Linked DNA regions of Homo sapiens: region 2 is linked to region 1. The links are contacts of gene promoters, found by promoter capture Hi-C in blood cells and fetal thymus (Javierre and others, 2016). All regions are on one chromosome and are shown on one strand. The core of a region is centred on a gene start or on the middle of the fragment in contact, and the rest is flanking DNA. Distances in the headings are between cores, read along the strand shown.

Region 1 (7,391 bases), core at 3,485-5,984:
CCCTATTGTAACACTCATTAAAAGTATAAATTAAAAAAGAGAACAAAAACAAAAATGTCTACATCTTCCTTATAAATTTTTGCTATGAGTTAGTCAAAATAAGAATAAATGAGGAGTTTCTGTGAAGATAGTGGAGTTACAGTAAATCTAGTAAGGGTACTACCTTTAGACCTTAGCAAGAAGGGCCCCCAGGGGACCCTCCCCCATAGGGCTATGAGTAAAAATTTTATTAGGTATACCAGGCATAGTTCACTAGGCAACTGTGTTTTTTTGTGCCACTGGCAACATGTTTGAGTGTTATGCCCCTTAACATCATGTTTCCTATAAGCCCTGTGGTTTTTATTACACAATTTTGTGCAGTGCAGAGATTTTTGACAATACATCGTAGAACTGACTGTATGGCCCACCAAGAAGACATACTAATCATGGCCTTCTATGAGCTTAACAACGTAGCTTGTTGTATGTTGTAAGTTACAACATAGCTTGCCGTAAGTAAAGGAGAAGCTGACTGAATTAGAGAGGACCTGGATACATCAGTTACCATCACAGTGAAAAGATTTAAAGTACCCCTCTAAGAAACAAAGAAAATAAGCAGCAAAAAAAGAAAAAGAAGAAACTTGTAAGGATACAGATTTGAACTGTGTAATTAAAAGTCGGCATGTAATAAATACATAGAGAACCCAGTAGCCAACAGATGGAGCATCTACATTCCCTTAAAAAGCGCATCTGTACAACTAAGTATGAAAAAAGAATGTAAAATTTAAAAGACCAAAATTTAAAATGCATGAAACAGTTGTAAAATATTGGCATGTACTATGTCACGAAGTAAATCTCAACAAATTCCAAAAACCTATATCACATAGTCCATGATCCCAAGATAAATGCAAACAAATTTAAAAATCACAGTTAAATAGTAAAATTTAAATAAATAAATAAATAAATAAAACAGAAAGCGTATTCCCAAATAGCTAATAGAAACAACATCAAAACTTAGGAAATATTTGAAAATAAATGACATTCAAAGCACTATATAGCAAAATTTGTGGGCTATATAACCAAAGCAACACTCAGAGAAACATTCATATCTTTGAAGGAATATATTAGAAAACACAAAAGACTGGAAGTAAAAGAAGCTAAATTTTAACTCAGGGAAAAAGAAGAAGGAGGAGGAGGAAACTGAGAAGGACAGAGAAGAGAAGGTACTATATTTAATAAAGTAGAGAAAAGGAAATTACACATAACTCAGAAACTGTGAAATACAGATCCGAAATATACAGAGAGTACTAACAAAGCTACAAGCTAGTTATCTGAAAAGACTAAATAGATAAGATTAAGAAAAAAGAAAAAAACAGCCAAAATACACAACGTGATGTATATAACTTCCAAGTGAGTACAGGAAAGAAAGGAAAAATTTCTTAAGTCCCAGTGGGTTCAAAAGAAGAAAGAAGGCTGGGCGAGGTGGCTCACATCTGTAATCCCAGCACTTTGGGAGGCCGAGGCAGGCGGATCACCTGAGGTCAGGAGTTTGAGACCAGCCTGACCGATATGGTGAAACCCCATCTCTACTAAAAATACAAAAATTAGCCGGGTGTGGTGGCGGGAGCCATAATCCCAGCTACTCAGGAGGGTGAGGCAGGAGAATCACTTGAACCCAGGAGGGGGAGGTTGCAGTGAGCAGAGATCGCGCCACTGCACTCCAGCCTGGGCAACAGAGCAAGACTCTATCTCAAAAAAAAAAAAAAAAAAAAGAAAAAGAAAACAGAAAGAAAAAAGAAAGGAAAGAAAAAAAGGGGGAGAGCAGGATGTATTCAAGAAGAAATAGAGGACATGAGTTAATAACCATTCAAAGAGCTATGTCGTCCCCAAACCCTTCACCTCACAAACCACAAAAGATAGTAGTCACAGAGTTTACAGGTGAATCTTAAGAAACTTTCAGGGTAAAGATAATTCTTGTGCAAAATATTTCCAATAAGTAAGAAAAGAAGATTTACTCACTTTATGAGCTTATTATAAGATTGATTCAAAACTGGACAAGAATACTAACAAAATAAAATTTTAAATCCGTTTTGCTTATAATCATAAACACATTTGAAATAAAACACTAGCAAATAAAGTCTAGCAATCTGTGTGTATGTAATGTGTGCCTATCTCAGAGCCAAGCAGAGTTTATACCAGTACCACATGGCTGCTTGACTATCAGAAAAATTGCCGTTGTAATTCAGCAATTCAAAAGAACAGTGAAGAAAAACTATATTGTCCCCCCAATACATGCAGTAGCAGCTCTCAATAAAACTCAACGATTATTTCTGATTAAATTCTTTGCATTTTAAATGAACCAGTTTACTGCCTCTCAGCTTCAAATTCACCCTTCAATACCAGCTCTGCAATAAGGCACAGGGCCCTCTAAGCATCTTCTCCTTTACAGTGAGTGTGATGGTAAGCTTGCCACAAAATGGTGGTGGCAGGCCCTCAGGAGGACAGGGCCTCTGATTCTGGAGCAGTTTTGCTTTTTTGTGGTCATACAGGGTGGCTGGTCAGTTGTATACAGGCATGAGGACGACCGTGGTGTTCCCTTTTAAAGGGTGAACTGCTTGAGTCCAGGAGTTTGAGACCAGCCCAGGCAACATGGCGAAACTCCATCTCTACAAACAATTCAAAAAATTAGCCTGGTGTGGTGGCATGCACCTGTGGCCCCAGCTGTTCAGGAGGCTGAGGCAGGAGGATCACCTGAGCCAGAGAAGTAGAAGCTGCCGTGAGCTAAGATCGGGCCACTGCACTCCAGCCTGAGCAACAAACAGAACAACAAACTGTGTCTCAAAAAAAAAAATTTTTTTTTGTTTTAAAAACATGCATGTATCTGTAAGTACATATTTATCTGTAAGTGTGCCTTAAGCTTATGTCATTAAACTGAGTGCTCCCAAGGGCGCCTGGTGTTCCTTCATTAGACAGACAGAATCCTGAGGAAATAACCTCCTCCCTTGAGATTCTCCCACTAACCCCTATCCAAGTCTTTGATCACAGAGCAAACTCAGCATGAGACTAAGTGACAGCTGGACGCTTAAGCATTAAATGTATGTGCTGGAAACGACTGTGCGGAAGGTAAGTCCTCACGCTGGGCCCCCAAAATCGGAGGCTCAGGTTCCCGGCCAGGATGCACTTGTAGGGTAACGAGATCCTGGAGGTGAGGGGCCGGCACTCACGTGGTGACAGTATTGAAGCCACAGGCCTTCAGCTTCAGCAGGCGGTCCCTCCAGTACTCCCTGGGCACCCGGAAATAGTGGATGGAGCCCCCGAAGATCAGGAACTTGTGGCCCTCCAGTGTGAAGTGGGGCTTACCCCGACCTGTGCTTTCAGTTCCAAGTCCCACAGATCGATTCTTCAGCTCCAGAGGGGTCAGATGAGACCAATTAAACCTGGAGGGGGCGGGCGAGGGAAAGAAAGTGGAAAGGGAGAGAGGATTCGGGAGAGGGCTCGGAGGCACGGCTGAAACCCTAGCGAAAAGAAGTTTTTGTTAGTAGGACGTGTTCTGTGCATATGTTAGTAGGACGTGTTCTGTGCATATGTTAGTAGGACGTGTTCTGTGCATATTCGCGATACTATTTTCTCCAAGAAAGGAGAGATCGCTCCCCTCCCTCCCCAGGGATGTAGCTCTCAAGCAAACCTAGGCTGGGACGGATGCGCTCTTCCAAGCATGAAGTTCTCTTCCTGCTTAAACCGAGGAGCAAAACCTGATGAGATAAATGGCAGGAAAAAGATGCCCGCCATTCTCTTCCAGGAGAGACACGGGCTGAAAGGAGAAAGGACAACAGTGACAAGGGGAAGGTTCCGGCCCCACCGGGCTGCAAGGGCCGGGAAGCTGTGCCGGGGGCGCTTTAGAGGCCAGAGCCAGGGAGGGGGCCCGCGACACAGGCGGGTCTTCCAGGCGGGCCCAGGGCCAGGACAGCGCGGCATCACCCGGCCAGTCCTCTGCAGCCAGGATGAAGGCCGGGGACAGACGTTCAGTCCTAGACCCTCCAGACAGGGCTGGGCAGTGCCGGTGGGTGCCTGGGAGAGGCGGAGGCGGGCGCACTTCCAGCACCAGGTTCGGGAAGGACACGGTGCCCAGCCGCTGGAGCCCCTGGCCTGCGTGCCCCACCCTGATTTTCTGGCATCTGGTGAACGGCCCCTCCGCAGGGTGGGGGTAGCCAGGGGATCTGCCGAGGAAAGCTGGGGACAGCGGGCTTGGTGGCGCGGCCCGGCGCGGCGCGTGCCTGGGGCGCGTGGCCGGCCACAGAACCCGGGGAGGGTGGAGGCTCCCGGGCACGCGCCGGGGTGGTGGGCAGCCCGGGACGGCAGCGGCGATCCGTCACCTGAGGAGGGGCGGGGACTTCATCGCGGCCAGGCCGAGGCGCCGAGGGTCCCTTGCGGCTTCCGCCCCTCTCCGCTGGCCCCGACGCCGCGCTCGGGCCGGGACTCGAGCCCCGGTTCCGCGGGGCAGGCTCAGGTCTGCGCGCTGCGCCTGCAGCCGAGGCAGAAATCCGTCCCGAGGCGCGGGCGCCGGGTCCGGGTCCCAAGGATGCGCGTCGGGCTCCCTCCCGCGGGGACAGCCGAGCTCCGCCGGCGCTCCAGGTGTTCCCGCAGTGCGTCCGGGCGCGGACGCCTCTCTGCCCTCGGAGGGGAAGCGGGAGGGCCCTTGGGGTAACGCCCCGACCTCGGGCTTCCTAACCTGGGTCGACAGCCGGCTGGCACAGGGAGGCCTGCGCGGGAGAGGGGCGGAGAGAGCGCAGCGCGGGGCACAGCGGGCGGTCTCCGTGCCGCGCGCGCGACTGGAAACGGCGTGCAGATCCTAAAACGAGGGTTCCACAGAGGGCCACGAGGGGCAGGAGAGAGTCCCCGGAGAACTCTAGCTCCCCGACACGGCTACCTCTTGGCAAACGAGCGAGAATTGGGGCGCAGAGCCTTGGGAGGGCCGTTCCCTCGGCGGGAGCGGCCCGAGCACAGCCTCACAGCAGATGCGAGCGCGGCGGGCGCTTTGGTGACGAAGTAGCGGGACCTGCAGGAGGCAGAGGCCTGGTGGGGCCGTGGACGCCACGCCGAGCTGCCCAGACCCTTCCAGAAGACAGTGGGGACTATTCAACGGTTTCCAGCAGAAACTAAGCCAGGTGTTCGTTTTACGGAGATTGCTCGGCTGCAGGGTGGAGGCTGGATGAGAACAGGCGTCCTCTCAGGTAGGCGCTCGTGGTGGTAACGCTGCCCAGGAGGAGGGCACGGGTTCCGGGAAGACTTGCGAGGTTAAACCGGCAGCTCCGGAGAACTGAGCGCAAGAGGTCGGTGACACAGAGAGGAGTCCGGGAGGCCGCATGTTTCAGGCTGAAGTCACTTGGCGGGGACGTTTATTGAGATGCGAAACACAGGAAGGGATAGAGGCTGCGCAGAGGGAAAAGGCGATGGACTCGGTTTTGGAAACGCTGATGTGAAGTCCCTACGATGAAAAAAGAAATCTTCCGATTTCTCCCTTTGAAGTCTTTGCTTCTTCCGTTGCAAAGAACACAGCCTATGACATCAGGTTGAAACCAAGAATGTAGTTCTCTGAAAATACTGTGTGTGGGGGAGGGAGTTTATCTTGTCTCATTCCTTACAAGGATACTTTGCTCTCCGACACCTTAGCTCCCTGAAAGTTTCCTAGATCGTCCATCTTTTCCTCATTTTTTCGACTGCAAGCAATGAACTGTTAATTTTTTACAGTTTGGTTTTACAGCCACACACTTTATTCTTCTTTGTCAAGTTTAAAGTATTCTAGGGCTTGTGCCTTCCCACATAAAATTTAGAATAAACTTGTCTGTTTCTACAAAAAGCCATGTTGGTATTTCGAGAGGAATTGCAATCAACCTATGGATCAAATTGAGAATTGTATCCTTATTATGTTGAATCTTCCAACCCACGAACATGGTATGTCTGTCTATTTAAATAGTTTTTTTTTTTTCACTTCTTTCATCAGAATTGTGTGATTTTTTCAACATCAGATCCTATCACGTTTTGTTAGGTTTATACTTAAATATTTCCTTTGCTCTCAAGAGATTTAAACTGTTATTATTTTTATTTCAGTTTTTACATGTTTGTTGTTAGCATACAGAAATGTGATTGTGTTTCTCATGTTGATCTCATATCCTGTGACCTTGGCAAACTCACCTATTAATTTTAAGAGGTTATTTGTGTATTACTTGGCATTTTCCATGTAGATAATCATGTCATCTGCAAATATGGAGAGTTTTATTTCTACCTTTCCAGTCTGCGTGGCTTTTTATTCCTTTTTTTGTGTGTCTTAGTATGATGACTAAAATTTCTGTGTTGAATAAGAGCGGCAGGAACTGACACTGTTACCTTGTCCCCAGTGTCAGCTGGAAAACATTCTGTTTTTCACTATTAAGTATGATGACAGCTATAGGTTTTGTGTACATATTCTCTATCAAGTTGAAAGAGTTTGACAGCTGGGCCTGCAGTCACTAGAAATGCTGTGGTGCTTTATTGGAACAAGCTATGTATCAAGAATTGTGATTTTCTGCAGGCGTTGCTGGAGGAATTTTGACAAAGGTAGAAGAATCAAATAATGGATTATTGGTTCATTTGAAAGATGACATATCCTGTGTCCTTTTGCCATCTGGGGCTCCCCTCTGCTGATGGAGTATTTGAGAACCTCTATGAAGGAGCCCTGGAGAGTGAAAGTTCCCCCAGATTTCTGTGCTCATTAAACCTGTAGAACTCTTGAAAATGTGCAAGGTGAAGTAACAATTTTGATCAAACAAAGCTGTCAGTTTCTGTCTTGAGATTACAGAAGTAACTCTACAAGGCCAACATCCCAAGCACAGGAAAGACCAGCCACTAGGGCCGCAGACCCAGCATCCTGGTACAATTTATTAAAAAAAAAAAAAAAAATCAATATTTTTCCCTTCAGTTTCCATCCAGATAACTGATAATGAAACAAAGAGCTAATTTCCCAAAGCAGGCAGAAAGCATCAAAAAGCTCCCAGAGCTGAGTGTGCAAACTTCCTGTGCCAGTGCTTTGATGTTAATAAAGCACAATTCCTGCTCCTAAATTGCTCTCTTGTAAGAACAGCAGCTTCCAGAAAAAGAAGGCAGCACTTTCTGTTGCTTTAGTAGTGGACAACCCTATAGGAGTTAATGTATGAACCAGAAAAGACAATTCTTGATTTCTTCTTAGGTTGAACTTCTTAAAGAAATGTATGTGACAACTGTATAATAAGAACCCTTGTGAGATCCAAAAACCTGGGTTAGGAACTAATATTATCAGTGAAAAATTAAAGGGAAAGATTATCAACTATTAATATTCCAGTGTCAGAGAGCTGTGAACAAAGAGTTGAGGCAGAGATATCTTTAAGGTTAAAGTATGCAAA
Region 2 (6,456 bases), core at 37-2,536, 98 kb before region 1:
TCTGTCCTCCTCCCTGGATGTGCAGACATGGGCCATGGCTTCTGCCAGGACTCACATGTGAGCTGGGCCTTCTGTCCTCCTCCCTGGATGTGCAGACATGGGCCATGGCTTCTGCCAGGACTCACATGTCCTCCTCACTGAACACCAGAGACACCTGCTAACTTGGGAAGACGCAGGGTGAGGATTTCTGTTTCTCCAGCCCAGCCTGTCACCCTGTGGGAAGCAGCGAGTGGGAAGGGAAAGGGGAAGTCACATGTTTCTCACGCCGAGTTCCTTCCAGAATCCCAAAGAAGGCTCAGAAGGTTGTGAAGGAAGAACAAAGTCAGCTCAGGTGAGACACCCCTTCCCCACCCTCTACACTGGTGACACACCCAGGATTTCGGGGATAAAATGGGGCCATGAGGGATGTGGCCAAGCCTCCCAGGAACCAGCAAAGAGCACGCCTGAGTCCAGCAGATGCTCGCAGGGCTGTGACGTCCAGTGCAAGGGCACGTTTCAGCACTTTTTCTGAGGGCCAAAGGCTGGGCGATCTGATTAGCTGCTCCCACCCTAGAGACAGCCCGACAGCCTCGGCACAAGAGCAGGGCTGTAGGAAAGCCATCATCAACAAAGCCAGGCCCAGAGCCATCCCACCTTTCCCTGCAGGCTTAGGGTTTTGAGCTGAGACAGGGGCAGACTGTAGCCCCCAGTCCCTGAGGTTGCTACTTAAGGAGATGCTTTTGCAGTGAGGGGTGGGGCAGCAGCCACCAGGCTTCAGGTCAAGAGGAGGCGGCAGTCTCCCACTGGCACCAGCAGGAGGGGGTGCCACCGCTCACTTAATGTACTGGTTCCTGCCCAGGTGGGGGGTTTCCGTGAACTGTAATGCAGGGCCCGCCATCGTCTCCTCAAAAACGATGACCTGTGGAGAGAGGGCCCGGCTGGGAGGGCAGCTGACGTCTGTCCTGGAGCCAGGGGAGGTGCTGAGAGGTGGCAGGGTCAGAAGGAAAGGGTTTGGGAACCAGGCTGGAAGGGACAGGGACCAACAACTCGTCTGCAGCGAGGAGGAGGGAGGAAGAACCCGCTGACACGCCCCTCCACCCTGACCGAAGGCTCCCTGGGACGGCAGGTGGGCAGGGCGTCATGGGGAACAGGAAGGGGCTGGAAGCTCCCACCTGGTTGATTCCGCTGCTCAACCAGGGACCTGGGAGGTAAAGCGTCTTCTGGGGTCCAATGTTCCAGTAACGTCCAAGGTTCTGGCCATTGATGAATACAACCCCCTTCTCCCAGCCCTTGAAACAGAGGGGAAGGGTGTTCATCTACCACGAGAGCCACAGCAAAAGTGGAGGGAGACATGCATGCGTGCTTCTCTCAGGTCCAGGAGACCAAAGCGAGCTGTGTCTGGACAGCCATGAGGGTGGGCAGGTGGGATGCTCTATTTCCTGTCCCCCTAGTGCATGAGGTGTTTCTTCTGCTGGGAACCCACTCCTCTGGCCCAGGGAGGCCCCAGCGGCCCTCTCAGACCCTCTGGGCACAGAAGCCACCAACGACTCTCGCCAAGCTCGTGGCTTTGGCTCAGAGCCCTCCAAGGCGGGAGGCAGGTGGGAGAAACTGGCAGGGAAAAGGGCGTTACCAACCTCCAGCTTCAGAAAGGTGTCACAAGGGGTGGAGCTGATGGACAAGCTACCCAAGAAGAAAGCAGGTAATGTGGGTGTTTCTGGGAGGGAACTCCATTTGTCCAGGCCGAACCTAAGGACAGAACACAGAGAAGGAGAGGGAGGAGGCCCTTCTCAATCCACCAGCACAATAAAGCAAAATAAAAGGCCCTGACACCGTTTCCCCATCCAAGGCCCCCCGCCTCTTAACCAGGACACAGAATGGCAGCACGGTAGGATGCTGGGAATTCCTAGTCTGCAAATGCGGCTTCTAGTGCGGGTGCCACCCCTCACCTCGGCCAGCCGATCTGGCCCCTGGAGGCGTTCACACCTGGGTGCGGGCCAGGCCACGGTGCACCAGGGACCCCTGGGCCCCACCACACAGCACTATACCTGTGAGTGCAAGGGCTGGTGCTGGGCAGGGACCCACCTCTGAAAGAAGCTCTTCTTCATATCCAGGCTATAGATTCTGAAGTTTTTCAGGGGTGAATCATTCAGATAGAGATTTCCAATTAAGCCTGTGGGAGGGAGGCAGGACACGTGGGTAGCCCAAAGGCAGGGGCCGAGTCAGCTGGGCCGGGGCCACGAGGGGAAGCCCTGGGAAGCTGGGGTGAGGGGTGCTGAAGTGTACGCTCCCTGAGAAGCTGGGGTGAGGGGTACTGAAGTGTACGCTCCCTGGGAAGCCGTTCGCTTGCAAGCAAAGCTCCCTAGCAATTCTGTGGGGGACGGGAAGGAGGAAGACCCTAAGATTTGCCATGGGAAGGATATAGAGCTGAGGTGTTACAGGGCGAGAACAACCTCTGGCCTCTCTCTGAAGGAAGTTCCAGATGACCGAGAGGGTTCTGGCCTAGCTGCAGGGCCAGTTTCAGTGGGGCCCAAGCTACACAGACCTAATAACTCAGCCAGAATCATCTCTGCCACCTAGGATTAAAGCTGTGCATTAGGAGTGTTTGGACTGTGAGCAGATGGCACCCTCCCTCGGGCATCCAACAGGGAAGAGATGTGTCCTCTTGAGGAGCCACTCATCAGTGTCCCGGGGCCGGGCCAGCCCTGCCAGTCTCAGATTACAGAGCTGCTGAGTGGCTAGCTTGGGAATTTGGAGGCCGAGGACTGTGGAGAGGCTTTGCAGGGCCTACAGACTCCGAAATGGCAGGTGCGGGTCTATGTGGGCACGCGCATTTCTCAAGGGAGGTCTGTGACTTATAAACATTGAACTGTGATCCAGAGGACAGGACTCCACAGTGTGGGCCCAGGGGACCCTCAACAAGGGCTCAGGGAAGCAAAGTTAGGAACAATGGTCAGGCTGGTGCTCCTTCCAACTCCCAGGAGAACAACAGAAGTGAGGACAGGCCCAGAGAGGGAGCTGTCTAGGGTAAAGGAGTGTGGGCCTGGGTGGTGCTAGATGCCGCTCTGAGGCCCATCTAGAAGGGCCCTGATCCCCAGGATCCAGGCCCCAGTGTCTGGGCCACGTGGCTTTCCTGGCAGGCCACCAGACGGCTCTCGGAGGAAATGTGGACCAATAAGAGCTCTTCAAGTTTCCTCCGTCACAAACGCAGACACCGTGAGAGAGCTGGGAGGTCACCGGTGCTGCTCACCACAGTCGCATTCATTTTGTTCTGAGTTCTTTTTTTATAACTTACCTGAAACCACCCACATTTAGCTAGATTTTTTTTAAAAAGGAAGGGCTAAATTTGGGCACGGTGGCGGGCGCCTGTAGTCCCAGCTACTCGGGAGGCTGAGGCAGGAGAATGGCATGAACCCGGGAGGTGGAGCATGCAGTGAGCCGAGATTGCACCACTGCAGTCTGGCCTGGGTGAAAGAGCGAGACTCCGTCTCAAAAAAAAAAAGGAAGGGCTAAATTAAAGCATAAAAGATTTAGTAGGCCAGGAAACATAAAGCAAATTGGCGGCCTATTCCCAGAGGGGTACGCTACCAACAGGTGTTTTGTTTGCTGTATGTCCCGCATCCTCCTCCCCCAACATCTGAGATAAGCTTTCCCAAGATGGATCAAGAAGAGAACTTCAGTGTGGAGGCCCAAGAAGGCAGGGGTCTTGTGCCTTTCCTTGGATTCCTGGAAATCACATTCATTGCTCCTCACTGCCGCCCCCCCAAGCAGACATCCTTGCAGAAACCGACTGCAGCCCAGGGGAGACAAGAGGCCAGCTCAGTGTTCACAGTGTTTATCACGAGCACGCAGACGATGCACGCGTGCAGTGCTAACAGGACAGGGGCCACAGCCCAGCGGAGTTTCTCTGGCCCACTCAGAACTGGCCTCATGTATGGGACAACCCAGCCTCCACCTCCCTGCAAGAGGCCTCCATGGCCTGGTGGCCTGCTAGCATAGAGAAGCAATAGCCACCTGTGTGTCCAGCATGGCCACTCTTCTTTTGACACATTCTGGGACCCACCTTTGCGCTGGTCATCAATATTCTCCCCATAGTTGACTCGCCCACGATTCTCCACCAAGATCCTCAGCACGGTGTAACCCTGCCGGGAACACGGGGCTAACGATGACTGTCAGAAGGCCACAGCTGCCCCTCAGAATTTGCTTGTGGACCCCAGTTCTTCCCTACGCTCTGGGGATGGGAGTGTACATCCCAGCTGGGCAGAAAGCCACACTCGCCCTCTCCACCTACAGCTTGTGGGTAAGGAGCCACGGGTCTCCCAGGTTTTCCTCAGTGACTGCCCCCAGACTTCCTCGAAGCAGCGGGGGCTAGCCATCACCCAGCTCCCAAAAACAACGAACCTGGATCAGGGGGACAGCAATCTTCGTTGTCTTGTAGTCCAAGAATCCTATGGATACTGTGTTCACAAACACCTGCCAAAGGGAACAGGCAGGAACATCCATGACCAACAGGAGGAGGGTAAGCGGGACCTCCTCCAGGCCAAGAAGGGCAGCACGCGTGCCTGTAGGCAGACGAGGGGCCAGTGGGCAGAGCAGACATGAATGCCCCCTGAAGGCTCACAGAGCTGACTCAGAAGGGCCATTGTCACACACTGGTAAGAGCTGATTCTGAGGGGAGGGCATGAGACGCCTATTGCAGAGCTGCTCACCAGAAGGTCACAGGAATTTAGAAGAGAAGCTCCTACCTGCCCCCGATCATGCACGTGGCCACTGAGGATGCCAGACGAGGTGATGCTGGTCTCATAGAGAATGTACCCGAAGGACTGTCCATTTCCCCCATTGACTGGCAGGTTCTCCATGTTGATGGGCTTTTCAGACTTGATTGGCTGCGTACAGAAGAGATGGAGGGGTGGGCAGGCTCAGGAGGAGTGGGGTCACAGACAGACTCTGCCTGGGGGCTGGCACATGGGGTGGAAGCGGAGGTTTGGTGGGTGTTTTCTACTTTGACTTCTCATTGCACTAAACATACAACTCTCCAGGGTGACGGGGAAGAGGAGTGGGGCAAAGGGGTGTGCACCAGCAGAGTGCAGTCCGCAGGCAGGGGACACACATCACAGCCTCAGTCCGCCGGAGGAGGCACCCCCTTCTTGGGGAGGGGACGGCCTGTTCCTCTGCCCCTCACTCTCCTCTCTGAGGCTGGAGGAAGGAAAGGCCCACGGGGCCAGCCGCTGTTCCTCAGGGACCTCTGTTTCTCCCACTTCACACTCCAGCATGAGTCTGTCCTCTTCCCTCTGAGCTCCAAGGCCGGAGAGCAGACCCCAGAGCCACCAGGCACTGGCCTGCCTCCCCCCACACTCCCTGTCTGGAGGGGCTCCAGGCCCTGCTGCCCCGACGACTCTCACCTCCCGCCGACGACTGCCCCCAGCACTCACCTCCCTGCCAACGACTGCCCCCGGCACTCACTCACCTCCCGATGACTGCCCACAGCACTCACCTCCCCCAGGTACTTGAGGGCGTCCCACAGAGACAGGTACAAGACTGGCGTTAAGGGCTCATACGGCATCTTGGGAAGAAGGTCAGGTGGGGGAGGGAGAGGGATGCCTGCAACACAGAAAACAGGGTCACCCCCAACGGACCCAAATGTCACTGCCTGCTCGTCCTCCCCACCCGGCTCCCATCCACAGACCCGATGTGCTCCTGCGTCCCAGCACCAAGAGGAACAACAGGCTAGCTCTCAGCACCTGCTGAGGCCAGGGAGGAAGGCCAGGCCTGGGGGAAAGCCAGGGCGTTCTCCCGTCCTCCACAGGAGATAAGGAGCGTTAACACCTGTAACAGGTGAAGCCGGCAAGATGGAAACAGCCTCACACACCTCCCTGTCCTTGTCTAGGATATTCTTGCACGCAGATCAACTGGGGTCGAGGTGGGACAGTAAGGAAGTAACTCTTTAGGGGTCTGAGAGCAGAAGCGAGGGCCTGAGTTGGAACTTGAGTCTGCTGTCTGCTGGGTACCTGAGATGGAGCCGAAGAAGTCTCGAAGCTTCATGTACTTGGCCGTGTAATCGCCGGCTTCTGTCAGCACAGCATCATAGTCTGCAAGACACCGGGCCCTGTCATGGTCATTCCTGTCCCCAGCACAGCACATGTAGCACGAAGAACAGGGAGAAGCTTGGAAGGGCCACAGGTCTTCATCTCAGCCATTGGGGAGGCAAGACACTTTTGAGCCATTCAGTCAAAATACTGTAAACATGAAAGACCAGGCAACTACAACAAGCGTCCATAAGGCCAGGTGCAGCGGCTCACACCTGCAATCCCAGCACTTTGGGAGGCCAAGGCAGGAGGATCGCTTGTGCAGTGGCTCACACCTGTAATCCCAGCACTTTGGGAGGCCAAGGCAAGAGGATCGCTTGTGCAGCAGCTCGCACCTGTAATCCCAGCACTTTGGGAGGCCAAGGCAGGAGGATCGCTCGAGGCCAGGAGTTCC

Evidence for each region. Contacts are between HindIII fragments. The CHiCAGO score rates a contact against its expected background, and 5 or more counts as called.
Region 2: a fragment that was not itself captured here is called in contact with the fragment with the promoter of GLB1L3 in region 1 in 1 of 17 cell types (naive CD4 T cells); the score reaches 5.5 in naive CD4 T cells.

What each region holds. Positions count from the first base shown.
Region 1 is chr11:134,273,722-134,281,112 of GRCh38, reverse strand. It overlaps GLB1L3 (galactosidase beta 1 like 3), which reads right to left and starts at 4,734. Exons shown (of 20, transcript NM_001080407.3): 1 at 4,350-4,734; 2 at 3,662-3,787; 3 at 3,201-3,413. The coding sequence starts at 4,372. RefSeq lists a silencer at 4,556-4,625 and enhancers at 5,076-5,125, 5,276-5,405, 5,466-5,575. The HindIII fragment of the contact is 7,995 bases long and covers 2,896-7,391 here.
Region 2 is chr11:134,369,414-134,375,869 of GRCh38, reverse strand. GLB1L2 (galactosidase beta 1 like 2) reads right to left here. Exons shown (of 19, transcript NM_001370461.1): 11 at 5,985-6,065; 12 at 5,471-5,577; 13 at 4,722-4,862; 14 at 4,378-4,449; 15 at 4,040-4,118; 16 at 2,062-2,149; 17 at 1,614-1,725; 18 at 1,152-1,268; 19 at 1-898. The coding sequence ends at 812. Among named protein-coding and RNA genes, the nearest start is that of B3GAT1, 40 kb to the left of the region's middle. The HindIII fragment of the contact is 4,679 bases long and covers 1-3,625 here.